2 separate regions of the Homo sapiens genome follow, and region 1 is linked to region 2. The links are contacts of gene promoters, found by promoter capture Hi-C in blood cells and fetal thymus (Javierre and others, 2016). All regions are on one chromosome and are shown on one strand. The core of a region is centred on a gene start or on the middle of the fragment in contact, and the rest is flanking DNA. Distances in the headings are between cores, read along the strand shown.

Region 1 (7,567 bases), core at 278-2,777, 1.4 Mb before region 2:
CTTTAATTATCACAGGAACTGGCATTTGACGATACAATTTTAATACTGTAACCCTTTCTCATGGATGTCGAAGAAATTCTGTCTCTATATTTAGTGTCAACAATCCTCAGCTTTCAATCATTTATGATTCACTTGAGCCACTTGACATTCAACAAAAACAATTAAAAGAAAAAATTCTTTGGGAAGTAATTCATCCAGACTCAAATGGGATAGTAGGAGGGTTGTGGAATAAGGATTCCAAACAGGGTGAGGTATTCTAAATTGTCTTCTTTTACAAAGTCAGGAAGAGTAGCTTTGAAAGGTGGGTGGGGGAAGCTGTACTTGCAATGATGCCATTTGGCCTTGGAATGAATATCCTAAAGTATAGTAAGGTTTGGGGCATAACTATTTATTTTAGTGGTTGCTTCAAACATCTCTCTCTCTCTCTCTCTCATCTTCAAATAATATTGTTTTGGCTTTTAATGCCAGCTTTTGGGTTTGCTAGGATACCCAGGCTCGGTGCTTAAATTTGCAACTGTGCTGACTGACAGCTCACTTTTCCTGTTTTCTCTTGGGTCTCCTCTTTCGGTTAATTGCTGGTTGATTAGGGTGGGGTCGGGGAGGAGCTTCTCCATTGGCTTTTTTCAGTTTGTTTTAGTTCCTCCTCCCTTTTCATGGAAAGCTAGAACCACTTAGCTCAGGGTTCTGTATCCTAGCAACATCATTTGGGCTGGCAGGGGAACATGCCCAACAGATGACCAATCAGAAATGTTATTAATAGCCAGTCCAATAAAAATATTTGTAACTTAGCTTGCCTAGCAAAACAGAGCTGAAGATTTTCTTAGATGTGGGATGCTTTGGTTTCAGAGCTTGTATATGTTTGTCAGTGAAATGTGAATATTTATGTGCAAGGTTGTCTCCAGGAATAAGAAAAAGAGAATAATGACTAAAGTTGATGGTTCTGTTTTTGGAAACAGAAGAGTACATTTTATGTCCCCCCAAATGTACAGCTTTTTAAAAAATGTGCAGCTTAAAATATTTAAGTAGCATCCCAGTTACTTTAATTGATTCAGAGGGTGTGGTATGAATATGATGAAATGGTAGGTCAGTTGCATTATTTAATATTTGACATATTTGCTTTATTACATGAAGAAAAGATCCTATGTCTTTTTTCTTTAGAGAGCCATAGGCAAAATAAGAATACGAGGTTGATTTACTTTTCTAACTCAGTATAAGCCACTTAAAGTTGTGGTGAGTTCATTAGCCCCTTCCCCTGCACCCTAGTCTCTTTGCTCACCATCTCCCCAATTATGAGAGATGTTTCCAAGAGATGAATTTTGTAAAAGAGGTGAGAAAGTCTTGTGAACTAAATATTCTAAATTTCAACACCTAGAAGAAGGCTTAGTTTCTTAATATATTTTCTAATGGGCTTTTAGGCAGATAAAAAAAAATTCTACCTCATTAGTAACAGATTGGCAAGTGGTCTAGGTTTGGGGGTCTCTGAGTCTGTGTTTATGAAGCTAGAAGACTTAGGCATAAATGATGCATGTCTCTATCTCTATGTCTCTTTCTCCAGTTATGGTAAGGCCCCTTCTAAAATTTAACCAATCTAATTTTTCACCTGTGTTTATGTCACCCCATAGATTATGGGCTCCCTCTCTTGTTATGTTTGCTATCTGGGCTTAGCTGACATTTCTGAAGTAATTTAGTTAAGAGGAAATGAGTTGTTCCCAGTAGAGAGAGCAAACGAGTGGAGTGAAGGTAGCCAGCGTGATAAATGGCTCTTTCATTTGAAGATCTCCAGAGCTCGTTTACGGCTAATTTTCTGTATTGGCCCCCTTTGAGCTATTAATGCAATCTGCAGGGACCGTGGCCCCTCTCCTCTTAGCTGCCCCATTAGAGCTCCCATTAAGCTGCCTAGTCTCAACTCCATGGCGGGAGTGGGCGGGGGGAGTAATGAAAGGTGCTTTTTAAACTCTCCTAATCTAAACCGGCAGAGGGTGGTTAATACGATTTGAAGGGGGCTGGTCAATGAGCAATCAATAAAGTAATAATGAGAAGGATTCGGTACATTAACAGTCTAAAAATCCAACGAGACATTAAAAAATCATTCTTAACTCTCAGTTCCATTAAGATTAGAAATCTGGGGGGAGGAAGAGGGTGTACCCAGCTAATAAAAATGATCACTGCCACCATCATGTTGCTTAACTCAAAAAAAGGCTCACCTAAACTTTAAGAAAAAGTTTTTGGTGCAATAAGAAGCCAATATGCAATCTGTTTAACACCTTAGACAGCAGAAAATATTCTGGGATTTCTTGGAAAGGCTAGCGTGGCTGGAATCCAAGGTTCAAATGTTGTGACTGTGGGGCATTTTCATTGGTCTTAGGGATATCCTGTTTGGTTAGTTTCAGTTCATCCTCCATTCTCTCCCACTTTCTTTCCCGTTAGTTCTGGCCCCTTCCCCACATAAACACTTTGACTGGTGTGGATTTTCTTTCATGGGAAATAAAGAAATTGCCAAATTTCTATTACAATTGATTCTGTTGGGATTCTTCTGACCTAGAAGGTAAAATGCTCTGAGAGTCTGTCAGAGTCTCTGAACGGTATGAGTTTCCTCTCAAAAGGAAGAAGTTCCCATTTCCAGGTTGGACTTGGATCCCAATAGCTATTTATCAACTAGAGACCCTGAGAAACACTGCAGCCACTCTTTCAAAGTCAGGTAGGTTAGACATTCTTCTTCAACACTCCAAGTGCTGAAACTGAGAGAGACAATAAATGACTTTCTCAAGGTCCTATACACCATGTAAGTGATGAGACTCAACTCAGTTTCCAGCCTTTTAGCCTTCTAGACTCTGTCCCTATAAGATGCCAATACTGGATGTTTGAGTTTTTTAATATCCCTGCTTTATTTGTGGAAATTATTTTTTTCCCCACAATTTCAGTCCCCACACTTATACATGCACTATAGTTGTGGAATAAAATTTTACACTCAGGTACATGAGGAAGTGTTTAGATCTGAGGAAAGGGTGCTTTGCTGGTGAGAAAAAGAGTGCTAACTTTTAGGGGCCACTTTGAGTCAGTGCTAAGCCTCCTGGTTGTTTCCCAATGTCATTTACATCTTTAGGTCAAGAGTGCCTTTCGAAGGTACTTACCTTATGAATCTATAAGATAGGTTCATTTCTTCCCTTCTCCTCACCAGCAGATAGAATCAAATACAAAGTTCTCAAAACTATAATTTCACACTTAAGTTTAAAGAGTAGAGATTAAAAACTAGCCTATTAACACTTTAGCTCTTCTATAGTCAACTAATGAATAGTATTTTCTCTAATCATTTTTCTTTCCTCTCTTTTAAATAAAACTCCAGCCATGTTAATGAAATATTGATCTGTTTTTAGCCTTTTTTTACTTCTCCCCAGCATAATGCAGCAAAAAAGGGAGGGGAATGAGTTTTGTGGGTGTTACATCCAGAACTTGGCCTTGACACCCAACTGGGAACTGAAGAGGAAAAAAATACTTCTAATGTATGCACAGAAAATTGTAAACATGTAAAGAACTGAAAGCTTCATGCTGAGTTTTGCCATGCCCCATTTCCTTACTATTTCCTGCTGTCGCTTTAAACCTATCTCAGTCATCTCTGGGTTCCATGAGCAGGAACAGTGTGCTCATAATTACTAACAAATCAACCAGGCCCTGTTGAGCTCTGGGTTTATTGATAAACTGGAAGAAAGCAGAAGGGAAAAGACAAAGAAAGTAAAATATGGGGTTAATCAGGTGAACTAAGCAGGTGTGAAAGTGGAAGGGAAAGTAGATTATGATGGAGTTATGGATCTAAAGGAAAGTTGGGACAAGAAATGTGTCAGATCTGGTCTAGGGGACCAATACTAAGGAGAGAGGTTTAGAACATGAGGATAGGAGGCTGGGAACACAATTGTGATACTTAAATTAGAAAATGGAAATATAGTCCAAAGCACATCTTCTGACATTGTCCTTGCTTTGACTGGAAGGGGAAAAAACAAAAACAAAAACAAAAACAAAAACCTTCCCAGAGAGGGCAGTGTACTGACAGAAGCTGATTGGATTGGGGGTATGCAGGTGATAATGTATATGCAGAAAGGTACTCAACCCATGGCAGGGAGCAATATACATTCCCCAAAGGAAATAGCTCTTGTCGGGTGAATCAGGCAATTAACAATAGTGAAATTACAGGGTGGTTTATAACATTTCTTTAAAGGCCCGGCTTTTCCAGAGGTTTAGCTTCTGGGACAGGGAGAAGCAGGTAAGATTCCAATACTCAGTGGGTATTTGGTTATCCACTGTGGGAAGCAGGAAGTGAATTTAGTACTTTCAGCTTAGTGGAGTTGGTTGTTATTTAAAAAAATATTCTAAATAGTATTTAGAGATAAATATGTTGCTAAGTATAGAGGTGAGATTTTTATCTAATTTATTTCTATAATTCATATCATGTTAAAATTACAAAGGGCCATCTATATTTTGGAAAATAAGTTTTTCCAAGTTTTCATAATGCCAACTCCCATGATTGTCAATTATTTGTTTTTAATGCCTTCACTATGAGTCTGAATTATGGAAATCAGCACTGTTGTGAAGAGTAAGATAGACTGAAATAGATGCCCCCACCAATCACCTGTCTATTAAGTGACTTTAACTTCACATCTCACTCAAATCTGATTAACATTCACACTTCAACTTTTCATTGATTCATTCTTAAATGGGAAGCAGATTCACTGATGAGAAAATGAGGGAAATCAAAAAGAAGGAACACCTCTCTATATCCCCTGTCCCCGCCCCATGACAGGGCAGAATATTTACTCTGTTGCCAACATCAATTCATCCATCTGGGACAAGGTCTTGGGCTCTGTGGACAGATCCATAGATCCTAAAATGCCTACTGGGTAGTAGCAGAAGGGAATGTTTTAGTCTCCTCATCCACTCTTGTAATAAAGCTCTTTTCCACAAGGTGTTTGTAAAGGATCTAATGAAATTCATAGTAAATAAAAGATTTGGGAGCAACCTGGCTTCTAGGAGTCTCTAAACAACTATGGAGGTTTGTATACTGGAATCTGTGGTAGAGAGAATAAACTGTTAGAGAAATACACAGTATTGGTTAGTCTGTTCCATAGAAGGGATGTTATGCATCTTGTTTGATATATAGGGTTCTAGGCTCCAGACGACAGAAACAGCCTATCTTTTCCCCACACAATTACAAAGTGAGATAGACTTTATCAAATAGGTAGGGTTGGAAACCTCTTTTTTCACACCAGATGCATGTTTCCAAAGATTTTTTGGACTGGTGATCGACAAATACCATGAAGATTTGGAGGCCTCATATCCCAGTGGAAGAAGCAAAGTTACAGGGAAAGTCAGGAGGTATAGCCACCTGTTTAGGGGCCTGTAAAACCTACATAAAGAAAATGGGCTTAAGCAGTGAAGTCCAAGGGAAAATACTGCCAGGGAACTGGGAGATGGACTGTTCCTCATTCCCAGCCTTCTGGTTCCACTGAGCCTAGCCTCTTTCTGACATGCAGATGACACTGAAACACAATTAAGCAGAAATACAGGCTGGAGAGGCTGAATGCACCAGGGTAGCAGTGGCAACCAGCTGTCAACTCTTATTAACTTCTGCATAAAACATACCTTGAGTGCGGTTTGTTATCAATTACTTGCCGAAAAGAAACAACTGGGGCAAGGCAAGACCGCCGCTCATATGAATTAGAGTGATTGGTTGATTGATCAGGGCACCTGTTGTAAATCATAACTGTTCCAAACAATCACTAGCCGGTGCTTTAATTTGTAAACAAAATTCATGTCACTGCAGAATTGCTTTCACTGAAGATGAGCATTTGGGTTCCTTTCTAAATGAATCTGTTGTTATTATGTAGGGAAGAATGGGGCCCACTTTAAAGAGATGAGCAGCTGTTTTGGGCCCAGCTCCCCAGCTCAATGGTATTATTTGTCTGTTCTTGGGCATAGTATCTGATGGGGTCCACCCTCCTTATCCTTTCTAGTGATGACCATAGATCTGGGTCCAATAGGAAAGGAGGAAGGGGTTTCCATTGGAATTACCATTTTATATCACCGCATGGTGATAATCACCGTCAGGCTTCAGCACCAAATGAGATAGGCATTATTATCCTCAGGAGACAGATAAGGAAACTGAGGAGGTTCAGACAGAGTCAGTCAGGTGTCTAAGGTCACAGAGTTAGCACACGATGGAATAAGATTTGCCTGGTTCCCAGCACAGTCCAAACTCTGGGTTGTTTGATTTCTTGATTTGGGTAGTGAGCAGGACTGTAGCAAATGACACTCATATGTCTACACACGAAGTAAGTTTCCAGAGGAGGTATGGCTTTGCCATCTGTTTGTTTACAGCTCTCTGAACGCACTGCAGCCCCACTGGAATAAACACTTCCTCCCTCAGCTTTCCACTTGGTGTCTGTCCTGTGGCCTCACACAGAGACACATTCTATCAGCCGGTCATCAGGATCGAAACTTGGTCACCTTTATGGCAATTTTTTCTCTCTTTCTAGTTCCAGTTCCTCCCAAATCGGTGACTTCTCTAATGATGAATAAAGACGGCTTCCTGGGAGGCATGTCTGTCAACACCGGCGAGGTGTTTTGCTCCGTCCCAGGCCGTTTGTCTCTGCTCAGTTCAACTTCGAAGTACAAAGTAACTGTGGGAGAAGTTCAGAGACGGCTGTCGCCCCCTGAATGCCTCAATGCATCTCTCCTCGGCGGAGTCCTCAGAAGGTAACCCCACCACGAAAAACAAAAACAAAAACAAAAAAACAAACAAAAACCCACCAGTTTTTATTTATTGGACAGTGAGGAGAAGGTTCCAGCAAAACCCAATCTGCAGTCTGACGCAGTTGCCTAGCAACCGGGTGGCCGGAGCATTGCTTTCGCGCAGCGCTTGGGAGGATCCGCGGCCGCCACCTGCTCGCCCACAAACTCTAGTGTCCTTGCATCCAGGCCTGCCCGCGCCGCGCAAGTCCTACCGCAGATTTTGCCGCCCTGGGAACCTTTCACTTTCCTGGCCCTGCGCCTGGCGCCTCTCTTCCTGTCACCCCTAGGACATCTCAGGGGGCATTCTCCAGCCTGAGTACAACGCGGAACTAACAGCCCCCCAGCCCCCCCACAAAAAACCCCATAAGTTTCATGAAGCAACTCTCTTCATACCTTCAGTGTACTCTTTCTCTTTTATTGCATGTTTTAAATGCAGTTGGCACCCAGTGAAATTGGTCTTTCAACCTGCTGATGCACTGTAACCCAGTTTGATAAACTCTTTTTCTAAATTTGTGACATCCCTCTTTCAATAACACCACCACCAATAATAGCAATAATATCACTTTAGAAGTATTTATAGGTATTCCTGGGAGCCATTCAGGTGCTTCACAGTATTCCACAGCCCAGAGACTGACTCCTCCTCGTGGAAATGTGAGAGAATGTGGATTTTATCTTAAGATGTAATGCCTCCCTTGAAGTCCCTGCCAATGCCTGAACACTTTGGCAGTGTCCCTGATATGAAAGTGACTTTGTCTGAGACAAAACTTTCCAAGATGACCCCTTCTGG
Region 2 (7,603 bases), core at 3,509-6,008:
AATGAGTGAATGAATGAACAAAATGATACAGCTAAATTGAACTATATAGTTAAGCTCACTGCATTAAGAAAAACATTACGCAAAACCAACGATAGCAAAGTTCCAATTATCCATGCTAATTGAAAGAAACCGGGGCACTAATGATGCACCACAAGAGAGAATATGGAAACTATTTCTCTTTAGCTCTGGAGCATTTTTTTTATACTTACGTTGAAATGCCAGTTTATCTGGTGTTATAGGAATGCGCAAAGAATGAAAGTGCACTGAAGACCTAATGAAAAGAAAAGCTACAAATCTTGCCAGATTCCCTTTGTCACAACCATGCTTTGCTCACCCACCATTGCCACTGACCCTTACTGGGGATGAGCAAGGCCCATCACCAACTCTCAACATAATACAGAAGAAGAGCTGAAGGCCGGGTGCAGTGGCTCACGCCTGTAATCCCAGCATTTTGGGAAGCCGAGGTGGGTGGATCACCTGAAGTCAGGAGTTCAGGACCAGCCTGGCCAACATGGTGAAACCTCGTCTCTACTAAAAATATAAAAATTAGCCAGGCGTGGTGGTGCACGCCTGCAATCCCAGCTACTCGGGAGGCTGAGGCAGGAGAATCCTTTGAACCTAGGAGGTGGAGGTTGCAGTGAGCCGAAATTGCACCACTGCACTCCAGCCTGGGCGACAGTGCGAGACTCCTGCTTGGAAAAAAAAAAAAAAAAAAAAGAGCTGAAAATAAGTTGCTTTTATTCTCTAGGCTTAGCGTTGTTCAGGCTCACACCTTCCATGAGTTAAGGTAGGGAAGGTGATTAGACATGTTGGTTTCAAAGGCCTTCCTTTTCATATTTTGCAGATACTAGAGACAAAAAACAATAAGAGTAAACAAAAAGGTCATAGTGTCCATTTGCCATACTGAGGAAGCTGACACTAAAAAGAAGTTGAAAGCAAGATTGACCCAGAAGAGTCAGAATGAGGCTGATTTGCCTTTAGATAATCAGCAATCATCAACTTTCATCCCCCACAATCGTTCATTCATTCAACAACTAGCTCTTGACTTTACAGTGTGGTAGCTCAGGGCATGGGCTTCAGAGTCAGAAGTCCAGGGTCTGTAACTCAATTCCAGGACTCTTAGAAGCGATGACTCTGTTTCCTCAAAAAAAAAAAAAATGTGAAGATTAAATGAGATGATCCATATAAATTATGAAGAACACTGGCAGCATATGATAAGTATCCAATACTGGCGACTCTTGCTAACTCTATATTGTGCTACACAGTGGACTAGACAGATGTGGAATTTACACTCATATACCTTGTCTTGACAAACTGCTATGGCGTTTGTTTGTTTGTTTGTTTGTTTGTTTGTTTTGATGGAGTCTCACTCTGTCGCCCAGGCTGGAGTACAGTGGCACAATCTTGGTTTACTGCAATCTCCGCCTCCCAGGTTCAAGCGATTCTCCTGCCTCAGCCTTCCGAGTAGCTGGGATTACATACGTGCGCCACCACACCTGATAATTTTTTGTATTTTTAGTAGATATAGGGTTTCATCATGTGGTCAGGCTGGTCTTGAACTCCTGACCTCAAGTGATCTGCCCACCTCGGCCTCCCAAAATGCTGGGATTACAGGCCTGAGCTACCGCGCCTGGCCTGCTATGACTTTTTTTTTAAAAGATGCCAACTTATATTAGAGGGTCTTAGATAACTTCCCAAGCCTACCAATCACATATTTAGGGTTCTTAAGTAAATTCCTCCTTTGTGTTTTCTCTTTCCTCTTCTGTGTCATACTCACTGAATCACTATTAATTTTCATTATGAAAACTTTTAAATACATACATTGGAGTTATATGACTTAGCAATAATTACAATGCTTCTAACAAGTCATTATTACATTTGCTTATATATTCTTAGAGTATATTAGAAAATTCTTTTACATCTCTTTAAACACTGGATTTTCACAACTACCTGGTGAGGTAATCAGAGCTAGTATTAATTATCCCAATTAGACAGGTGAAAGAGTTCTGTCCCAGAGGGAATAAATAACTTGATTGGGTTCACCAGCCTATGAGTACCAGTCTGGGGACTCAAACCTAGGTGTCAGTAGTCAGTGCTATTGTCATTGAAGGTCATTTTTATTATTACCAACATTAATCTTAGTTTTGTCTCATTAGAAGAGCTAAGTGTTTTAGGTAATGTGACAGCTGTACTAGATGTGCATAAGTGTTGTAGGTCACATAGCTCGTTATCAGGAAATCAGATGATGTCTGCAAATACTCCAATTTGCTCCACAAAGCTTTTGATCTGAAACTGTAGATTTTAGTGGTTATGTAATACAGAGCAGGGGCTCTGAACCAGGCTGTTGCTGGTTCTTAAGAATGATTTAAACAGCACCTCTCAGAGAAATCCAGAGCATGACTTGAACTCTTATATGCCACCTATAAAGCAGATGAATAGATATCGCTCTCAATCTGTATAATAGGGGACAGGGGCAAGGGAAAGCACCAGGTGAAGGTGAGCTGTAACAGGACAACAACCTTCTCAGCCTAGCTTTGCACCTCACTCTAATGTGAGCTCACCTGAGCAACCTGAACATCCATCCTCTATACTCACCAGCAATGTGTGGACACATGTAAGCATGCACCTGGCCAACCTCTAGGTCCATGAGAATTTGCCTCAACTACTTATTGAAGATGTCCTATCTGCCTGCACCTCTCAACTTCTAATCCTATTCCAATGCTCCTTGCACTGTTATGTTTCTTGCTGACAACCCAACAGATTTCTTTAAGGAAACTAGAATTAGAAATAGCTATGGAGCACAAAGCTACCCAACAGAATTGCTTGGATGCAATGGCTTTAAATTCACAAATCTTGCCTCTGAACCAAAGAAAAGCATACTGTATGTGGAGACAGAAAGCTTAGATTGGTGTACCAGTTCTTGTGCTTACAGTATCCAGCAATGTTAAATAAATAGCTTAATTGAGCTTTTGTTCATCTGTATAAAGTGGAAAGTATTCCCATCTACTTCAGTGGATTGATCAGAATTTCCAGGACAATAATAACAATATTAATATGAACAGTTAACACTTACTGAATGCTTTCTCTATCATTATCAGTCGTTGTTTATTAGAATGGCCAAATTAACTGAAAATTAAGCATACACAAATCTGCCAGTACAGAGTATAGACTCATTTATTCTCAAAGATATTAATTAATCCTCCCAATAAATGCCATGAGAAAGATGCCATTGTTATCCCCACCATACAGTTGAGGAAACGGAGGCACAGAGAAGATAAATAACTTACCCAAAAATCCTACATTTAGCAAGCAGTGGAGCCAGGTCTGCCTGACATCAAAGCCTATGCCCCTAAATATGGCACTTTGCTGAGCTACATGTAATCTTTAAAATAACACATAAATATAAAATAAAACATACCATTGCTATATGCCATGAACCTTTTATGATATTCAAGCTCTTTTAAGTTGTATGGCTTGTAAAAGGAGAAAAAAAGGAAATTATCTAAGCCAATAATATGATGCGGGATTTCCTAACCCCTGTTTTCATGTACCTCTATAGTAAATTCTTCTCAGGCCTTATCTGACTAATGTCAGGCAAGATTCCAGACCTGCTGGGGCTAGATTTTCATTGCATTAACATCTCTCTTTCCTCCAAGAAGAATGAGATGGTACAAAATAAATAAATAGCAATCAGAGACATGGGAAATTTCCCTTCTCTAGGAGCTGTCCAAAGTCAACACTGGGTGATTTCATTTCTTCCATCCAGGGCACTCCTGTAATCTCAGGGGAATCATTAAACCTCTTGAGGCCCCAGTTTCCTTGGTTAAAATGTATATGTACATAATCCCTAAAGTGCTGGCCAAGCTCCCACCATGAGATAAGAATTTCAGGCCAACCTGACTCTATAATGGATGGCCACAGGAAAGAACATGCTAGTTGTCTGTGATGCCAAGGACTGCACACACTAACACCACCTGGGCACACACTAACACCACCTGGGCAAAAGCCATTGGGTGAGGAGCTGCATTTTTTTTTCTTTGAGACAGAGTCTCGCTATGTCACCCAGGATGGAGTGCAGTGGCGTGATCTTGGCTCATTGCAACCTCCGCCTCCCAGGTTCAAGCCATTCTCCTGCCTCAGCCTCCCGAGTAGCTGGGATTACAGGCAACTGACCCATGCCCAGCTAATTTTTGTATTTTTAGTAGAGACAGGGTTTCAAGTTAGTCAGGCTGGTCTCAAACCCCTGACCTCAAGTGATCCACCCACCTCAGCCTCTCAAAGTGCTGGGATTACAGGCGTGAGCCACCAGGCTCGACCTAATTTCTGTATTTTTAGTAGAGACCGGGTTTCGCTATGTTGGTCAGGCTGGTCTCGAACTCCTGAACTCATGTGACCCGCCCGCCTTGGCCTCCTAAAGTGCTGGGATTACAGGCATGAGCCACCACGCCTGGCCAGGAGCTGCATTTTTATGCCATTATAACTTTTCTAGTTATTTTTTTCTTTTTCTCCACCAGACAGGAGTCAAAATTAAAGTCATCTCTGTTTTTTAAGAAGTAATTCCAAAAAGACCCCAATCAAACCTAATTCCTTAGGATTCTGTTTTCTGAAATCCTAGGCATGACAGTCCTTAAACCAGAATGATTGCTGCTACTCACCATGGCTGGGCCATGCAGGGTCTTCACTGTCATGTTGCGCTGGTGGCTTACTTTGTGCAGGAAGCTCTTTCTGTGAATGTATCTTCCTGTGTATGCCTGTGTTCTATCAATGAGAGTACCTGTTAGTTTTATAGCAATCATTGCCCCTGTTTCGATTGACCTGCTTACTGTCTTTAAGTTGTGGTTGACCCGGAGTTACTGACGAATGCAGGGGTTTTTTTTTTTATTCCATTTCCCGAAGGGGAACAAAAGGGGGACCCTAAAGAAAGGGATGACAGGAAAAGGACCAAATTTTTCTTTCCTTCTACCCTACTTCCACCCCCATTGCCCACAAATCAGAGCAAAATTTTTAATTTACTACAGAGATGAACCAAGTTAGAAATTGTTGTCAAATCTTTTTTGTTCTTCCACAAATTGCCAACACCCTTGTCACGGACCATATGTTCTACTTTCCAGTCACGCAATATGAATCGTGATTTAAATGGGAGAAAACTCATCCTTAGAGGAGCCTTGGTACTAAACTATCTTTACCTCCATTTTATGAATGGGAAAACAAAACTAAAGAAATGAATGACATAAGTGAAAAATTCAGAAATGATATACCCTGGTAGTTTTGTTATCTCCCTGAACTAATTATTTTTTAACCCCATGGTTAGACTCCTACTGGTGCTTAATAAATAATCACTATTCATTGTGTTGATAAAACAAACTGTTTTCCTCTGCTCTCACACCACAACCAGCAACACAAAAGATTTCCATGACCATGTATGTGGGCATTTATCTCCATCAACCAGCAAGCAATCAATTCTGCATCCAACGCCAGCTAAGCATCTTCTAATCCAATTCAATTCTGACGCTATCTCCAGGTAGGTAGAGTCAGATCCCACAGGCTGAAGGCTCAGTCCCACAAAACTGCTCCCACTTTAAGCACCAATCACAGGTCCAAGCCTCTGGGACTTCTGACTGACTGGCCTCAAGTTCAGGTTCCCACAAACCGCTTGAGTTTGATTAGGCTTGATTAATTTGTTAGAACAGCTCACAAAACTTAGGGAACACTAATTTATATTTACCAGTATATTCTAAAGGATATTTTTAAGGATACAAGTCAACAGCCAGATGAAAAGGTACACAGGGCAAGGTTTGAAAGGGTCACAAGCACAGAAGTGTTCTTTCCCATGGAGCTGGGGTGCACCACCCTCCCAGCACAGGGATGAGTTACTGTTTACCTTTCTTAGAACTTCCACAAGTTCAGCGGTCCAAAGGCTCTTTGTATCCCATCCTCTTGGGCCTTTTATGGAGTCTTCATTGGGCAGACATGATTACAACATGGAAAACTGTAAACAAATGTGATTGGATAAAAAGGGTATAACCTGATATTAACAGGTTGAATGAGGAAATTCAGCCAGGCCTGCCTGTTCAGATTTTTCTTGGCCTCTCTGAGCAGCCTTCCTTCCTCCTGGGTAGAGGGGAGGACCCTTCCTGAATTGAGGGTCTTATGGCCTATGATTAGACAAGGTAAATCAAAGAATTTCTTTATGGCCAGCTCCAAGACAAAAGGTGTGGGGGGTGATGTTAGATGACAGGATATTTTCTGTTTCTATGGTCTTGGGGAGAAAAGGTGGGCAGGAGAAGTTCAGAGAGGGAGATTCTTTTTTCTGAGGCCTATTTCTTAGGCCTAAAGTGCCCCAACATTACAATAAAAGACTGTCTTTTTCACCTTTATTGCTCTGAAGCTGTCTGAAGCTGCTTCAGGAAACAAAGACAAAAAAGCTAAATACCCTAACAAAAGATATGCTTATTATTTTTATCACTTAGGATATAACGAGGGCTGTGGGAGTTATGAACCAGGAGCCATGGACAAATATACATATATGTAAAATCACATTGATGCAACACTTAAATGCCCATTACCTTGGCTATCTCTAAGAATGGTTTTTTTTAACCAAAATTAATTAGCAAGTAGAAGCCTTTAAATGCAAGATTGGCAGCCCTGGCACTGCAGCTGGGGCAGCAGAGCCAGGACGGCCCAGGAACTGACAGACTGAGGGATAGGCAGACTGACCATAGCCGACCAGCCAAAGCCCATCAGCCTGCTCAAGAACCTGCTGGCCAGTGGCTTTGGTGGCATGTGCCTGGTGTTCATGGGGCACCCTCTGGACACTGTCAAGGTCCGACTGCAGACACAGCCACCGAGTTTGCCTAGACAGCCTCCCATGTACTCTGGGACCTTTGACTCTCTCCCAAAGACTCTTAGAAGGGACATCACAGGGCTATATAAGGGAATGGCTGCCCCTATCATCGGTGTCACCCCCATCTTTGCTGTGTGCTTCTTTGGGTTTGGTTTGAGGAAGAAACTATGACAGAAACACCCAGAAGATGTGCTCAGCTATCCCCAGCTGTTTGCAGCTGGGATGTTATCTGGTACATTCACCACAGGCATCGCGACCCCTGGAGAACCCATCAAGTCCTTGTTACACTTTCAGCCTTCTTCAGGGGAAACCAAGTACACTGGAACCTTGGACTGTGCAAAGAAGTTGTACCAGGAGTTTCAGATCCGAGGCATCTACAAAGGGACCGTGCTTACCCTTATGTGAGACGTTCCAGCTAGCGGAACGTATTTCATGACAAATGAATGGCTAAAAAATATCTTCACTCCGGAAGGAAAGAGGGTCTGTGAGCTCAGTGTGCCTTGAATCCTGGTGGCTGGGTGCATTGCAGGGATCTTCAACTGGGCAATGGCAGTCCCGCAAGATGTGCTCAAGTATCCCTTCCAGACGCACCTCCTGGGAAATATCCTAACAGTTTTGGAGATGTGCTGAGGGAGCTGATCTGGGATGAAGGAATCACATCCTTGTCTAAAGGGTCTGATGCAGTGATGACCCGAGCCTTCCCAGCCAATGCAGCCTGTTTCCTTGGCCTTGAAGTTGCCATGAAGTTTCTTAATTGGG

Evidence for each region. Contacts are between HindIII fragments. The CHiCAGO score rates a contact against its expected background, and 5 or more counts as called.
Region 1: a contact is called between a fragment that was not itself captured here and the fragment with the promoter of IL17F in region 2, in 1 of 17 cell types (neutrophils). The highest score is 8.5, in neutrophils.

What each region holds. Positions count from the first base shown.
Region 1 is chr6:50,829,537-50,837,103 of GRCh38, forward strand. It overlaps TFAP2B (transcription factor AP-2 beta), which reads left to right. Exons shown (of 7, transcript NM_003221.4): 4 at 6,525-6,744. Among named protein-coding and RNA genes, the nearest start is that of TFAP2B, 14 kb to the left of the region's middle. The HindIII fragment of the contact is 4,019 bases long and covers 1-3,537 here.
Region 2 is chr6:52,239,742-52,247,344 of GRCh38, forward strand. IL17F (interleukin 17F) reads right to left here and starts at 4,759. Exons shown (of 3, transcript NM_052872.4): 1 at 4,656-4,759. The coding sequence starts at 4,688. It also overlaps the pseudogene SLC25A20P1. The HindIII fragment of the contact is 13,260 bases long and covers 2,898-7,603 here.